5 separate regions of the Homo sapiens genome follow, and all the other regions are linked to region 3. Evidence: promoter capture Hi-C in human tissues and cell types (Jung and others, 2019). All regions are on one chromosome and are shown on one strand. The core of a region is centred on a gene start or on the middle of the fragment in contact, and the rest is flanking DNA. Distances in the headings are between cores, read along the strand shown. Region 1 holds the start of GFAP (glial fibrillary acidic protein). Region 2 overlaps LINC02210-CRHR1 (LINC02210-CRHR1 readthrough). Region 3 holds the start of FMNL1 (formin like 1). Region 4 overlaps PLEKHM1 (pleckstrin homology and RUN domain containing M1). Region 5 overlaps LINC02210-CRHR1 (LINC02210-CRHR1 readthrough).

What was found. Contacts are between HindIII fragments. The study calls those that stand out against the background at their distance.
Region 1: the fragment with the promoter of GFAP here is called in contact with the fragment with the promoter of FMNL1 in region 3 in 2 of the 25 tissues and cell types used here (lymphoblastoid cells and mesenchymal stem cells).
Region 2: a contact is called between a fragment that was not itself captured here and the fragment with the promoter of FMNL1 in region 3, in 1 of the 25 tissues and cell types used here (hippocampus).
Region 4: a fragment that was not itself captured here is called in contact with the fragment with the promoter of FMNL1 in region 3 in 2 of the 25 tissues and cell types used here (hippocampus and mesenchymal stem cells).
Region 5: a contact is called between a fragment that was not itself captured here and the fragment with the promoter of FMNL1 in region 3, in 1 of the 25 tissues and cell types used here (dorsolateral prefrontal cortex).

What each region holds. Positions count from the first base shown.
Region 1 is chr17:44,914,250-44,917,267 of GRCh38, forward strand. GFAP (glial fibrillary acidic protein) reads right to left here and starts at 1,251. Exons shown (of 9, transcript NM_002055.5): 1 at 777-1,251. The coding sequence starts at 1,237. The HindIII fragment of the contact is 9,658 bases long and covers 1-3,018 here.
Region 2 is chr17:45,630,889-45,633,602 of GRCh38, forward strand. All of the region lies in intron 3 of LINC02210-CRHR1 (LINC02210-CRHR1 readthrough), which reads left to right. The region is part of intron 5 of LINC02210 (long intergenic non-protein coding RNA 2210); the gene reads left to right. It also overlaps the pseudogene ARF2P. Among named protein-coding and RNA genes, the nearest start is that of LINC02210-CRHR1, 12 kb to the left of the region's middle. The HindIII fragment of the contact is 3,614 bases long and covers 1-2,714 here.
Region 3 is chr17:45,220,504-45,223,284 of GRCh38, forward strand. It overlaps FMNL1 (formin like 1), which reads left to right and starts at 1,382. Exons shown (of 27, transcript NM_005892.4): 1 at 1,382-1,750. The coding sequence starts at 1,622. It overlaps FMNL1-DT (FMNL1 divergent transcript), which reads right to left and starts at 1,262. Exons shown (of 3, transcript NR_147507.1): 1 at 846-1,262. RefSeq lists silencers at 957-1,406, 1,417-1,466, 1,747-1,856, 1,779-2,073 and enhancers at 1,920-2,420, 2,421-2,781. The HindIII fragment of the contact is 26,209 bases long and covers 1-2,781 here.
Region 4 is chr17:45,486,296-45,489,160 of GRCh38, forward strand. The region is part of intron 1 of PLEKHM1 (pleckstrin homology and RUN domain containing M1); the gene reads right to left. Among named protein-coding and RNA genes, the nearest start is that of PLEKHM1, 3.0 kb to the right of the region's middle. The HindIII fragment of the contact is 3,459 bases long and covers 1-2,865 here.
Region 5 is chr17:45,646,907-45,649,709 of GRCh38, forward strand. The region is part of intron 3 of LINC02210-CRHR1 (LINC02210-CRHR1 readthrough); the gene reads left to right. Among named protein-coding and RNA genes, the nearest start is that of LINC02210-CRHR1, 28 kb to the left of the region's middle. The HindIII fragment of the contact is 3,350 bases long and covers 1-2,803 here.

The DNA of each region.
Region 1 (3,018 bases), core at 1-2,500, 310 kb before region 3:
CTGGAGGATGAGCAGATGTGGGCTTTTGCCTTAACTCATTACTAAGGTGCCTTATCAGGGTTGGTGCACCTGCTTCTGCTCACACAGGCGCATCCACAAGCATACACTCACTGTTGCACACACACACACACACACGCACATGTCCTCCTGCACTTGAAGGCACACATGCATGTCCTGTCAGCTCAGTGAAGCGCCATGCCCCTGGGGATTCCTCTGATCCCAGGTAACCACCTTTTGAAATGAATTTTATTATGACCACCGCTTCACAGCTGTGCAAGTCAAAGTAACTTGATGGGGGTCACAAGCTGGTGGCAGGCAGTCACCTGTGCTTTGCGCCCAGACCTGCCTGCTCTTTCCCTCACTTTCTTCACCCCAGAATCCAATCTCCCTCATGGACATCAACCTTCTCCGCTTCCAACTCCTCCTTTATATGGACACAGGCTCAGAATAGGTGAGCTCGCTGCCCACAGTCACAAAGCCCAGCCATGAATGAAACACAGGGGCCCCGCTGCTCCTGCACTGCTTTCCCCAGTAGGGAGGTGCTGAGGGGACCCTGGACTCCTGGCAGAAGGCATGCGGGCATCAGATCCCCGGGGCCCTGGGCCTGTTTCTGGTCCCTCCCATCATGTTGGGGGGCAAGGATAGTGCCCCATCAAGAGGTAGGGAGGCCCAGGGAGCAGGGAGGTTCGGCCCCTCCCTGAGACTTCTCGGGCACTCCTTCTTGGGGATTCAGCCCCTTCTGCTCACAAGGCCCCCCTTCCCCATCCCCTCCTCACTTCTGCCTCACAGTGGCCAGGTCCTGTGCCAGATTGTCCCTCTCAACCTCCAGCCGGGCGCTGTTGGCGGTGAGTTGATCGAGCCGCAGCCGCAGCTCTCGCAGCTCAGCCTGGTAGACGTCTGCCAGCTTGGTGGGCTCCTTGGCCCGCAGCTGGTTCAGCTCAGCAGCCAGCGCCTTGTTTTGCTGTTCCAGGAAGCGAACCTTCTCGATGTAGCTGGCAAAGCGGTCATTGAGCTCCATCATCTCTGCCCGCTCACTGGCCCGGGTCTCCTTGAAGCCAGCATTGAGTGCCCCAGCCAGGGAGAAATCCACCCGGGTCGGGAGTGGAGGGGGCATTCGAGCCAGGGAGAGGCGGGTGCCAGGACCCAGACGGCGGCCAGGAGCCAGGCCCCCCACCATCATCTCCCCTGAGGAGACGTAGGAGCGGCGAGCAGCGGAGGTGATGCGTCTCCTCTCCATCCTGCTCTGGCTCTGCTCGCTCCTGGGATGCGAGGGCTTTATGAAGGAGTGGGCTAGACTGGCGATGCCCGGGTGCCCCTGGCAACACCCCCTGGCATAGCCTGAGGGGGTGGGGTTGGGCCGCAGCCCAGCTATGGGGAGAGCTCCCCTCACCCCACTGAGGTCACTGTGCCCAGAGGCAGAGCTTCCTGGGCACGCCAACTCCTGCATGAGGCAGGTGGTACCTGGAGCCAGACCATGGGTCTGGGGCCCTGACCGCTGAAGCAAGAGGACCCTCTCTCTAGGAAGGTGGGTCAAGAAAGGGTTGGTTGGACCATGATGAATACTTACAATTATTATGCATCAATTAAAAAGGAAGGAAAGGGCTGAGTGGGGTGGCTCATGCTTGTAATCCCAGCACTTTGGGAGGCTGAGGCTGGAGGATTGCTTGAGCCCAGTAGGTTGAGGCTGCAGTGAGCTGTGTTTGCGCCACTCCAGCCTGGGCAACAGAGAGAGACCTTGTCTCACAAAAAAAAAAAAAAAAAAGGGAAGGAAGGGCTGTACCAGATGACCTCTGACCTGCTTTCCAACTTTTTGATTTCATAACCCAGGCATTATCTCACTCAGCTGTAAGTGCCTGCAAGGTGCTGGGAATTTGGCGAAGAATGAACCTGTTCTGTACCCTCAAGGGCCACCTCATTTCCTACTAGGCCTCATTCCCAGCAGACTCCTGGAGTCCTTCCCTTGAACACAGATGTCCCACATTCCTGCTCTCTGCCCATTCATTCCCTGGAGTTCTGGGGCTGGGGGCTGGGATTGGACACCAGCCCTTTGTCTAAGGGTCAATCATGGCCTCTATGTGGCAGTGGAGGTCCTGATAGGGCAAGAGGGGGCCGGCACTCTCTTGCCTTATCAGGACTTTAGCCCCTGGATCTGTCCCTCCAGGTCACCCCTTCCTTGTCTGGCCTCCCTGTGCCTCTCTCCCAGAGACCAGGCCTTGACAGCTCCACAAAGCCGTTACACATGAGCTGGCTGTGCTGGCTCGTCTTTATTCCTGCAGCGCCCCGTTTCCCTGGCCACCCCTCCGTCTCCCACTGGAGATTTATTTCCTCGAGTTCCCACACATCAGCCTGGAGAGATGGGAAGAACCTCTGGGGATGGATGGGTTTGGAAACGCTGGAGCCACTGGGCCCAACTAGGAGCCTGAGACCTGGGCCCTGTTGTCCCTGGAGACTTCAGGTCCATCTACGCCCTCCACTCTGGTCCCACAGGGTCAGAACCCTGCCCAGTCCCCTCACCCATTTGTGTCCTTGGACTTCTGGGAAGCAGACAGCCCTCCTCTCCCCCCCTGCCACCCACTGTCCATGCCTGGGCATCCCCTGATCCCCTTTCCTGGGCACAGGCTGAATAGAGCCTTGTTCTCCACCGCCGGTGGCGCCACACAGCAAGGGCAGCCCCTAGGGGGCTGTGCTGCTTTTATCCCAAGATGCCAGGCTGTCAGGCTGGGGTGCAATGCAAGCCCCCTGCTCAATGGGCTTCTCGGAAGGCATTTGAGGGGGGCTGGGGTGCGGCGGGAAGCAGGCACTGTGCCCACCCCGAACATTGTGTCTGTGCCAAGGTGAGTCATTCACTGGGCATGAAGAGGAGGCCCTGGGGGGCGGCCAGCCCAATGCTGCCAGGTCTGCTTGCAGACAAGGCCTGGCTGTCTGCCTCCTCCCCAGCTCACAGAGCCAGCTCAGGCCCCCGAGCCTCTGTCAGAGCAGCGTCCCCTACTCCACACCAGGATATGTTCTTTTTTTTTT
Region 2 (2,714 bases), core at 86-2,585, 410 kb after region 3:
TCCTCCAGCCAATGTAGCAGTGACTGGGTCTGTGCAGGTTTTGGTCACCTTCACTCAGGTGTGATGGGGTGGTGCCTTTCTTTGGCCTGCCCCAGGTATCTTTTACTTTTTGGGATGTATTTGATGCTATAGTATGGAATGCTGCAGAGACTTCCGGCACCAACCCCCTGGAGTTGGACTTTATTTCACAGGTTGAGGGCACCATCCTCCACAAGAATCCCCAACTTCAGCCACCAGCTGGCAACAGGTTTGGGGGTCCTCAGCCCACCCTCACTTCTGGCCAGATGGCTACAAATTTGGCGATTTCCACTACCCCCTCAGGTTTGATCACTTGTCAGAATGATTCACAGAATTCAGGGACATGCTATGCTTACAACTACAGTTTTATTAATTGATCAATAAAGCAAAAGGATATAAATGAACCAGTCAAAGGGAAAGACACATAGATCTGGGAGGACACCAAACGCAAAGCTTTCATTGTTCTCTCCCCGTGGAGTCAGGGGCTGTTACCTTTCCAGCACATCGATGCGTGACAATGTATAGAGTATTGCCAACCAGGGACGTGCTCCTGAGCTTCAGTATTTGTCATTTTTATTGGGGCTTCCTTGCATAGGTACGATTGATTGAATCATTGGCCATGTGACTCAAACTTTAGCACCCTCATTTCCCCAGAGGTGATCTTGTTAGCATCCACTATCTAGGGGCCCACTCTGAGTCACCTTGTTAGCATCAACTTAGAGGTGTGGGCCCGCTATGATAACAAAGATACTGCTGATCGGGCGCGGTGGCTCACGCCTGTAATCCCAGCACTTTGGGAGGCCGAGGCGGGCGGATCACAAGGTCAGGAGATCGAAACCATCCTGGCTAACATGGTGAAACCTTGTCTCTACTGAAAATACAAAAAATTAGCCGGGTACGGTAGCGGGCGCCTGTAGTCCCAGCTGCTCGGGAGGCTGAGGCAGGAGAATGGTGCAAACCCGAGAGGCGGAGCTTGCAGTGAGCCAAGATCGCGCCACTGCACTCCAGCCTGGCGGACAGAGCCAGACTCCGTCTCAAAAAAAAAAAAAAAAAAAAAAAAAAAAAGATACTGCTATCACTCTGAAAAGTCCAAGGGTTTAGAGGCTACCTTCTAGAAACTGGGGACAAAGACCAGCCAAATTCATTACTATAAGATGCCCATAGGAATCTCTTGGTGTTCATACCAATGTGACCCAGAAGTATGGGTGGCCTAACACCTGTTGAGTTGTTCTTGAGCAACAGGGAATGGGTACTGAAGGATACTTGTTTCCTCTTTTGTCCTCTGGGTGGACAGTTCTGACAGGCATTTGATATGGCTTCTTAGAATGTCCAACAACGGTGAGCAGTGGTCCCATAGTGGGGGCCCAGCTTGATAACTCGTCCTTCTATTGTCTGTCCCTCCTGCCCTGTTTTACTCCCTCAGCCCCTCATTCCTGATCTCTGGGATCACTTCCCAAAGAACGTACCTGCACTTAAGCTTTTGTCTCAAGTTTTGCTTTAGAGGGCTAGCCCTAGAATGCTTTTATTATACTAAACTTTACATGTTTTAAAAAACAATGTTTTGGCCAGGGGCAGTGTCTCACGCCTATAATCCTAGCACTTTGGGAGGCTAAGGCAGGCAGATCACCTGAGGTCAGGAGTTCGAGACCAGCCTGACCAATATGGTGAAACCTCGTCTCTACTAAAAATACAAAAATAAGCAGGGTGTGATGGTGTGCCTATATTCGCAGCTAATCGGGAGGCTGAGACAGGAGAATTGCTTGAACCCAGGAGGTGGAGGTTGCAGTGAGCCGAGGTCACGCCACTGCATTCCAGCCTGGGCTGCAGCAAGACTCCATCTCAAAATAAATAAATTAATTAATTAAAAAAAAGTTTTTTTCCCTGACGTGGAAATTAAGTGATTAGAAAACGAGACTAACTTTTTCAGGATATATTCTTGTTGTTAATATGGTGCAGGGCTGTGATGCTTCTGCAAAATGTAAGTTGAGTGTATAGCAGGCCTCCTAACTCTAGAGATGATGTATCCTTCCGTATCGATTGCCTTTGTGAAGTCACACACATAAGCAGGGAGAAGTCGTGAAGATACATAAACAGCTGCGTTTTCCAGGCTCAGATCACTAACATGCTCGTGATTTCTTTCTAGGTCTGATTTTTATGGTTGACAGTAATGACAGAGAGCAGATTGATGAGGCCTGGGAAGTGCTAACTTACTTGTTAGAGGACGATGAGCTCAGAAATGCAGTTTTATTGGTATTTGCCAATAAACAAGTATGTTGTTATTGGCTTTCTGAATGCTGGAACTGAAATTTACTGCCAAATGTCTCACTTGTAAATACAGACATTTAAATGAGATGTCTGCCTCCCTCTCTCCAGTACCAACCATAATATCTCCCACCATCTCCTTGCTAGAATGTCTTTTTTTTTATTGAGACAGAGTCTCACTCTGTTGCCCAGGCTGGAGTACAGTGGTGTGATCTCAGCTCACTGTGACCTCCACCTCCCGGGTTCAAGTGATTCTCCTGCCCCAGCCTCCCAAGTAACTGGGATTACAGGCATGCGCCGCCATGCCCACCTAATTTTTGTATTTTTAATAGAGACTGGGTTTCACCATGTTGGCCAGGCTGGTCTGGAACTCCTGACTTCAAGTGATCTGCCCACCTCGACCTCCCAAATTGCTAGGATTACAGGTGTGAGCC
Region 3 (2,781 bases), core at 132-2,631:
AATGGCTCCTGACCTGGCCTAGAGATAATTCGGGGCTCCTTCAGCGGGCCCTCCCTCCTCAGTGCCCTGGAAGTGTAGGGAGGGGTCAGTTGGGGATCCCCACAAATTAAATGGGGAATGAGAGGAGCAACTGAAAGTCTCAAATTCAGGCTATAGATGGGACCCCAGCCCCCCATACTCTCCCGTCCTACATGAGATGGGCAGTGGAGGGCCAGGACAGCAACTCCAAGCCAGTGTAGGTTTTGGAGGTAGACAGTGAGGAGGCTTGCTTCTGTCCTTTGTTAGCTGAGTGCCCTTGGACAGCTTACTTACCTACTCTCAGCCTCAGTTTCCCCATCTCTAAAATAAGGCTACCAATACCTACCTTCTCTGGCCATTGTCAGGATGAATGAAAGAGCTCTGAAAGTATTTCTGTAATTAGCAGACATCAGAGATTGTTATTCTCCAAGGTAAGAGGCCCCCCTAGATCCCTGGCGGTGACAGTGTCAAGATTCTTTTTCCCTCCTCTGCGGTGCCCACTCCTTTTCCAGCCTTGTGGCTGGCTCTCATCCTCCTTTCCGCAACCCCCCACTCCTCCTTGGGACCACCTTGGCGGGCCCAGCTTCTCGCAGCCTGCCATATTCCATAGGTGCCCCCATTCTAAAACCTGTAGGGGTGCCCTGCACAGGCGCACGGTTGGTCGAGGTGGGACAGGTGGCGGGGGTCTCCACTGGCCTGCGTCCGCGCCCCCCACCCTGTTTAGGAGTTCCTGTTTGGAGATGGCTCCCCCTCGTCCTCAGCTCGTCTCTGGGCTAAGCAGGGGAGGAGAGAAATAAAAGGTGGGGGGCCTGGAAGGGGGTTCCCACCTTCTCAGTCCGGGACGCGAGACGGGAACGCAGCCCTGGCGCCCCAACGCTGCACCACCGTGGGTCTCCGAGCCGTGCTCGCAGTCGCTGAGATCCTCGGTGCGGAGAAGATGTGCCCCTCCAATCCCCAGGCCGTGATCCCCTTCACCCAGACCCGGCCAATCCCTCGCCCGAGGCGAGCGGGAGGATGCGGTTCTAGGACCCGGAGGCGCCGCCGAGCGCGCCGCCGCCTCGGCCTCGCCTCGGTGGCCTCCCGCTCCGGCAGGTGAAGCGGCGCCGGCCGCCCCCTCTGCGGCAGGTGAAGCGGCTCGGCAGCCCACTCCCCGCCCGCCATGGTTGCGGGGGTCCCCCGGCCAGCGCCCGCCCCCTCCCTCCAGCCCGCCCCCCTGGGGCTGGGTGCCCGGCGGCGGCGGCGGCGAACTGCGGTTTGCGCGCACGGGGAGCGACAGCAGAAGTTCGAAAATCGCCGAGGGGGGAGCCAGCGCCGCAGCTTCCTGCCCCCGGCCCAGCCCTCTGGCCCCGGCGGCCTGCAGCCTGACTTCCTCCCCCAACCCTGCAGCTCGCCGCCCGGTCCCACGGACGGGGCCGCCCCGATGGGACGCCGCGCTCCGGCCCCTGCGCGCCGCTGAGCCGAGCGCCCCCCGCTGCCGAGACCCCCGCCGCCACCGCCAGCCGCTGCCCCCTCGCCCCCGCCCGGGCCGGGAGCCTCGTCCCCGTCCCCCGGAAAGCTGGATTTCCGAGGCTGGAGGCGCCTGGCCGGCTGGGTGGGGACCACCATGGGCAACGCGGCCGGCAGCGCCGAGCAGCCCGCGGGCCCCGCCGCGCCGCCCCCCAAGCAGCCCGCGCCTCCCAAGCAGCCGATGCCCGCGGCCGGAGAGCTGGAGGAGAGGTTCAACCGCGCCCTGGTGAGTGCGACCCGGAGGCGGGTCGGGCGCGGGCGGGGGGCGGCAGGGGCGCGGCAGGGGCTGGGCGCGCGTCCCCGCCCCCGGGGACTCAGGTGCCGCTTGGAGATCCCCGGTCCGGCAGCTGCCCCCTCCAGGAGGTGGGAGCGACAGTGGCCTTTTTTTCAGAGTGACTTAGCACTCTCCCCCCAAAACTTTCTTCAGTTATCGCCCGGTCTCCCTCCCTAAGACGCCTCCACCCCAGCTGGGTCTTAAGGTCTAAACAAGTATGTCCTGTGAAGAAGTTGGGAGCGGGGCACGCACAGGGGTCCCGGGTCGCCCCCTTCCCCACTGCACGCAGGCCCAGCCACCGGGCGCGGGTCTGGGGCATCTGCCTTTCTGTGTCTGGAGTCAAAGATGAAAGGGTTACAACCTCCCGGGAGCGGGAGACCTGCTGGAGGTGTTGGGTCCTGATTTGTTGGGCGCCTGGGCTGCGGGGAATGGGGTTGTCGGATCATGGCCAGGAGGTATCTGTGTTTCTACCCCGCCATATGTCAGAGCCAGGGTGCCTGTGGGTCTTTATCTTGGGGCATCCTTTCCAAGCCACTGAAGGGAGTAAGATGAGGGAGGGTGGGGTCAGGACGGGTGGGTCGCCCAGGCTAGGGGTGGAGCAAAATCTGGAACCACCCCCCTCTGTGCCTACCTGGGGAATTGGAGCGGGGTCGCTGGGGAATAGGTCTCTGGGAGGGAACCAGCAGCTCAGGCCGAGCCTGGAAACAGTCAACATGTTCAGTGGGGTGGGGGCTCCAGAGCAGACTCAGGGGTCTCCAAGACCCTGCATAAGGCAGAAGTAGGGAGAGGAAGAGCTGCTCACTCTCACTCTCCCCACCCCCGACGCCCTGGCCCTGGCTCCCTCCTCTAACTAATTGCCTGGTGGCCTGCCTGCTGTCAGCCTTCCCTTGCTGGACGCTGGGTGACAGGCAAAATGAGGCTGTGCCTTCTCCCAGATGCATTTCCCAGTCCCTGCAGGTCTGAGGGTGGGGGCTCAACGGAGA
Region 4 (2,865 bases), core at 4-2,503, 270 kb after region 3:
AAGCTGGCTGGGCGCGGTGGCTCACGCCTGTAATCCCAGCACTTTGGGAGGCCGAGGCGGGTGGATCACGAGGTCAGGAGATCGAGACCATCCTGGCTAACACGGTGAAACCCCATCTCTACTAAAAATACAAAAAATTAGCCGGGCGGGCACCTGTAGTCCCAGCTACTTGGGAGGCTGAGGCAGGAGAATGGCGTGGACCCAGGAGGTGGAGCTTGCAGTGAGCCAAGATTGTGCCACTGCACCCCAGCTTGGGCAACAGAGCGAGACTCCATCTCAAAAAAAAAAATTAATAATAATAAACTGAAGCTAAGAGAGACAGGGCCAGACAAGAGAAGGGTCACTTGGCCTAAAACAGAGTCAGAAATGCCACAAAATGACTGACAAGAGCTCAGAGAAATCCAGCAGAAGAGCCACTTGAAAATTCACAAGACAGGACTGAGCCTCTGGGGTTCCAGCCACAATGCAGGACACCTCTGTTTGTAGGCAGCCATAGCACCCCACCTATCTGTATCTGTTCCATCATGCTCAGGGAGGCAGGGCTCAGATGGTCAGTGACATAAGAACTCACGGCGGGAATCAGAAGGAGGCTTTGTGTCTCTTGACTGTGGGGACAGTACTGCGTCACCCACCCTGGTGGCCCAGATTCTGAATCTACCATCCTATGGAACTGGTTCCACTTTCTGTCCTCAAAACGCTCTTCATTGACACAAAGAACCAAAGTGAAGAGAGGTGTGGCTTCAAGGAGACCTACCTGAAGGGAGTGAGGCAAAGCTGGGCAACAGTACCAAAGGGCTCTTGAACATGACGGGTGAAATCTTAGCAGGGGAAAGGTGACTGGTGCCATTTAGGAAGCCCCAAACCACACCAAGTCTACTGCCACCCTGTGTATTCATTCGCCTTCACATAGCTCTCCAGAGTGCAGAAAGCAAGCTTCTCTGATGTCCCTCTCTAACCTCATTTAATTCTCACAGCAATCCCGTGAGAGAGTGATTATCCCTGTTTTACAGAGGACAAAACTGAGGCTCAGTAGCAATGGGTCTCGGGTAAGGGACAGAACTCTCTGGTTTCTTCATCCCAACTCCTGCATCTTTCCCTGGACCAAAAGGCCTCAGGTCTTTGGCTCAAATTCAGACAAACTATTACTTCTTCTTTAGAGGTACTCGGAAGCTCCATTTCATCACAGAAGGTCTGAAACCAACAAGAAACAGTTCTGCCAATCAGGTTTATAGCCCCAACCAGCTGAGACCAGGTCCTACCAATGCTCCTAAAGTCTCAGAGCTATACTTTCTTAAATGTTCCAACATAGTTAGGAAGGAACAGTTCCGGTTGGTTTCCTGCATTATACTGCCTGGCCTTCTCTATATGTCCAATTTCACTTCCTCCAGAGATCAAGGAAGCAAAAAAAGAGAATGACTTGGATGAGACTTACGTTAAAAGAAGAAAGGGATAACCTGGTTCCACCACTCTCAAAACACTCCACCATCAGTGAACAGCAACCTCTTCTCTTGAGGGACTCCTCAGCCACTCCCCACGGCCTTCTCTCCACTGCCTGAATTGTGTAACTGGCTGTTCAGAGCCACAGCCTGGCTTTAAGCCATCCAACTGCTGTACCAATTGATGAGTCATGTTTTTTCAATTGGAAAAGAATGACAAAGTTATCCTCTGATTCAGAAAGGCAGCTGATCTTTCAGGCATGTGAGTGCTGACTGAGGAAACTGCACCTCTGTCCACCTGAGGAAAGCTGGATTTCTGTGATGGGTGGAGTGGTGGGGGTTGGAGCTTTGAAGCAATTAAATACCAGATGAAGGGTGAGAAACTTTTAGCTTGTGATTCCCAGACTCAGGGCTAGTGGATGAGGGCAGAATTGTGGAGTCAGTGAACACTAGCTATCTTTCTTTCCTCCCTCCTTCCTTCCATCCAGTATCACCCAGCTTTCCTGTATTCTTGTCCCATATCCCAGAGGATTCTAACAAGGACCAAACTCTGAATGAATGAAAACAGGACCGTTGCCTGACCCATTCACCATTGTATTTCTAGTACCTGGAACAGTGTTTGTCACACACTGGTGCTCAAAAAATAAGCTGTTGAATGAATTGATTAATAAAATAAAAACAAGGCACGGGGTAAGTACCTCCACTTCACACACTGTGGGAAGTTGGGGTATACAACTCTTAAGTGCTGGGGCAACTGTGGAGCTCCTGTCATTAAGCCAAGCTGCCAATAAGGCTGAAAACAACTTAAATATACTGCATATTAATGGGAGGACATTGAAGGTAAACAGCATTCACTTTTCAAAGGAATACGACTATAAGTGGCAAGCAGAGACAGTGTTCTTTGGGGCTCTTTAAAACTGCAATCAGCCAGGTGCGGCGGCTCACGCCCGTAATCCCAGCACTTTGGGAGGCCGAGGTGGGTGGATCACCTGAGGTCGGGAGTTGGAGACCAGCCTGATCAACACAGAGAAACCCCCATCTCTACTAAAAATACAAAACTAGCCGGGCATGGTGGTGTATGCCTGTAATCCCAGCTACTCGGGAGGCTGAGGCAGGAGAATCGCTTGAACCTGGGAGGCAGAGGTTGCGGTGAGCCGAGATCATGCCACTGCACTCCAGGCTGGGGAACAAGAGTAAACTCCGTCGAAAAAAAGAAAGAAAGAAAGAAAAAAGCTGCAATCAAATGGCCCACCCATCTGATGCCGGGTCCTCAGGATTCAGAGAAAATGTGTACCAAAAAGCCCCCAGGAAACTATAAATGCTGAGCATGGGACTTGGGTGCCTCTGGAATGTCCTTCTGCCTCAGCTACTCTGAGATAACATGGTTCCCTGTGTTCATGGAACCCAGATGGCCAAAAGTCAATGATCC
Region 5 (2,803 bases), core at 269-2,768, 430 kb after region 3:
GTGTTGTCAAATCTGAAATAAGGGACTGTGTTTTTGCAAAATTCTCTTCCAAGGCCAAGCACAGGGTCAATGTTCAGCAAATATTTGGTGAGTTAATGAATGAAATGAAAGCACTCTCCTTATGCTCCTTGGCTGAGTGATGTGGAGAAGAGTTCCAGAACAATATAATTTAGTTTCTTTCTCCTTTTAACCGAGCCTAGAAATTCTCCACAAGGCATATGCAAATACCCCAGACATGTATTTTTCCAGGCGTGTGTTTTATGTGCAAATACTCCTGCATATGTATGATTTTATTTTACTTTTTGAGACAAGGTTCATTGTCCAGGCATTGTCTAATGCACCAGTGCATTGGTGCCATCTCGGCTCACTGCAGGCTTGACTTTCCGAGCTCAGGTGGTCCTCCCACCTCAGCCTCCCAAGTAGCTGGGATGACAGGTGCACACCACCATGCCCAGCTAATTTTTTGTATTTTTAGTAGAGGTGGGGTTTCACTATGTTGTCCAGGCTGGTCTTGAACTCCTGGGCTCTAGCAATCTGCCCACCTTGGCCTCCTAAAGTGCTGGGATTACAGGCATGAGCTTCTGCTCATATACGTTACTTGTTCATCTGACTGAAGACCCCAAAAGAGACCAGCACCCCAAAGAAGCATGTATTTCTCTTTGGAACCAGAAGCAAACATCCTTCTGTTTGCTTGGGATGCATGGGATGAGCATGCAGTAGGTGTTTAATAAATACTTGTTGACTAATTAGGGGGCATAAATATGTAAAAGTGGTAAATTAGCAAGAAAGAGCTGCAGTGTAGATAATCAAATAACAAAGTTGTCTAGGACAAGAGAATCTATCTCTGAGGGCTCTGTGTAGGAGGAGAGGTGGTGTTGGCTAGTGAGGCAGATCTGCCTTCTAATTAGGCTCCAATCAGGATAGTATTGCAATTAGCTCGGGATATTATAGCAGTTAGCTTCTATTCTTGGAACAAATTCCTGGGAGATTTAAGTTGGGTGGTAAAAGAAGGTTGTCCCAGGAATAAATTTGCTGTGAACCGCTTTGGAGTGACTACTTCATATGTGCCTAATTGAACCGCCAATGTAAACCTGATTGGATTGTTTCCTTCTTTATCAGCGACACTTAAACATGAGCTCAGGAATTTGGACAGCCACTTAACAACAGAACACAGCTCGGGAAATTGCAGATTTCAAATTTCAGAAAAGTCGATGAATTTAGACAACTTGAGTGTCTTCTTTGTGTTAGGGTAGACAGGCTTTGGCCTCCAAGATCTGGCTGACAAGTGCTTGCTGCTGAGACAGGCACTGAAAAGAGTAAAAAATATAATGTCTTCAATTATCTTCCCAGTTATTGAGACACTTAAAAACTCCACCCCAGCCCACCCTGACAGTCTCCTGTAAGGAGCTCAGTTTTCTCTGTGTCAACCTGATGACAGACCCAGGAGGATGTTGTGTCTGGGAATGTTTGCTCTTCCTGGCTGGGGTGAGTAGGGCTTGGCAGCAGAGACAGTGCGAACAGAACCAAGCCACGAATCCTGGCTCTCAGTCCATCCAGCCAGCAGCTTTTCGCTTCATCCTTCACCCTCCACACTTCTTCTCTTTCTTCTGCATCAGGAGAGGCAGATGTAGAGCCCAGAGTTTTTTGTCAAAGAGCCTGAGTTGGAATCCTGCCTGGCACCATCGCTGGGGGGTGACTGGCTTTCTGAGGCCCAGTTTCGTCATCTGTAAAATGGGCATGATAATATCTGCCCAAATCATTTCAGGAGGTTGGTTGTTGAGAAGAGGTGGTGCCTGTACGACTGCCCTAAGCTTGAAAGGACAGCAATCGGTGCCGGCTTTGTAGCTCACAAACTTTACCTTAAATGCTGACCATCACAGGGTCTTGGGACAGGCCCTAGGACCAGCCCCCCCACCCTTGCTGGTGCAGGGCTTCCCTGCAGATGGCGCTGTGCCTGGAGAATGCAGCCAGCAGTAAATCAGGGCAGCTTGATTAAACATGTCCAAGTCTAGTCAAGCCAGACTAGATGTGGGCGTGTTTGGCACTATAGGTGGATCCAGTCTGGATTTCCTTTACCTGCATGTCCTGGGTGTGTATCCCTCACAAAAGTTCCCCCCGCCATCACATTCACACCTCACCAAATTAAGCCACCCAGCCCCCACTTGGCCCCCTAGGAACCACTGCAGCAGGCAGTGTGTTTAATCCCTGTGAAGCATTTTAGCATTAGATGAAGATGACGCCTTGGGCTCCCATCCGCCTGTGACAGAGGCTGCCAGCTCCACTCTTGGAAACACCCTTGTTTTGACTTAGTTTCCCATCCAAGATGAAGGTAGGCAGACTGAAAAAGCCAATGCTAAAAGAAAGAAGACCCCAAGACCCCTGTATGAAGCTTAGAAGGCAAAGGCCTGTCTTCACAGAGCCAGCTAAAGAGCTAGGCTTTGGCGCCACCACATCCTGTTTGGAATCCAAGCTCCACCGTTTAGCATTTGTGTGACCAGGGGCTTGTTAAGGAAGGCCCCAAGGCTCCCTTCCCTGCGTATAAAAAGAAGAGATGGTACCTGCTTTATAGGATGCAGTGGTGAGGGTTCAATGAGAAGAGGCTTGCAATAGGCTTGGTATAGTGCCTGGCACATGGGGATATTCAAATAGTGCTGACTATTAGATCAGGAGCAGACATTGGGGTAGGAGGTATCAGCCCGGGGAGGAGACGACAAGGAGAGTTAGGGAGGGAAGGACGTGCCAGGGAAGAGACGGTGGGCTCTGCAGAGGAAGGCTTCTTGGTACCTCTCGAAAGCTGCTGTGG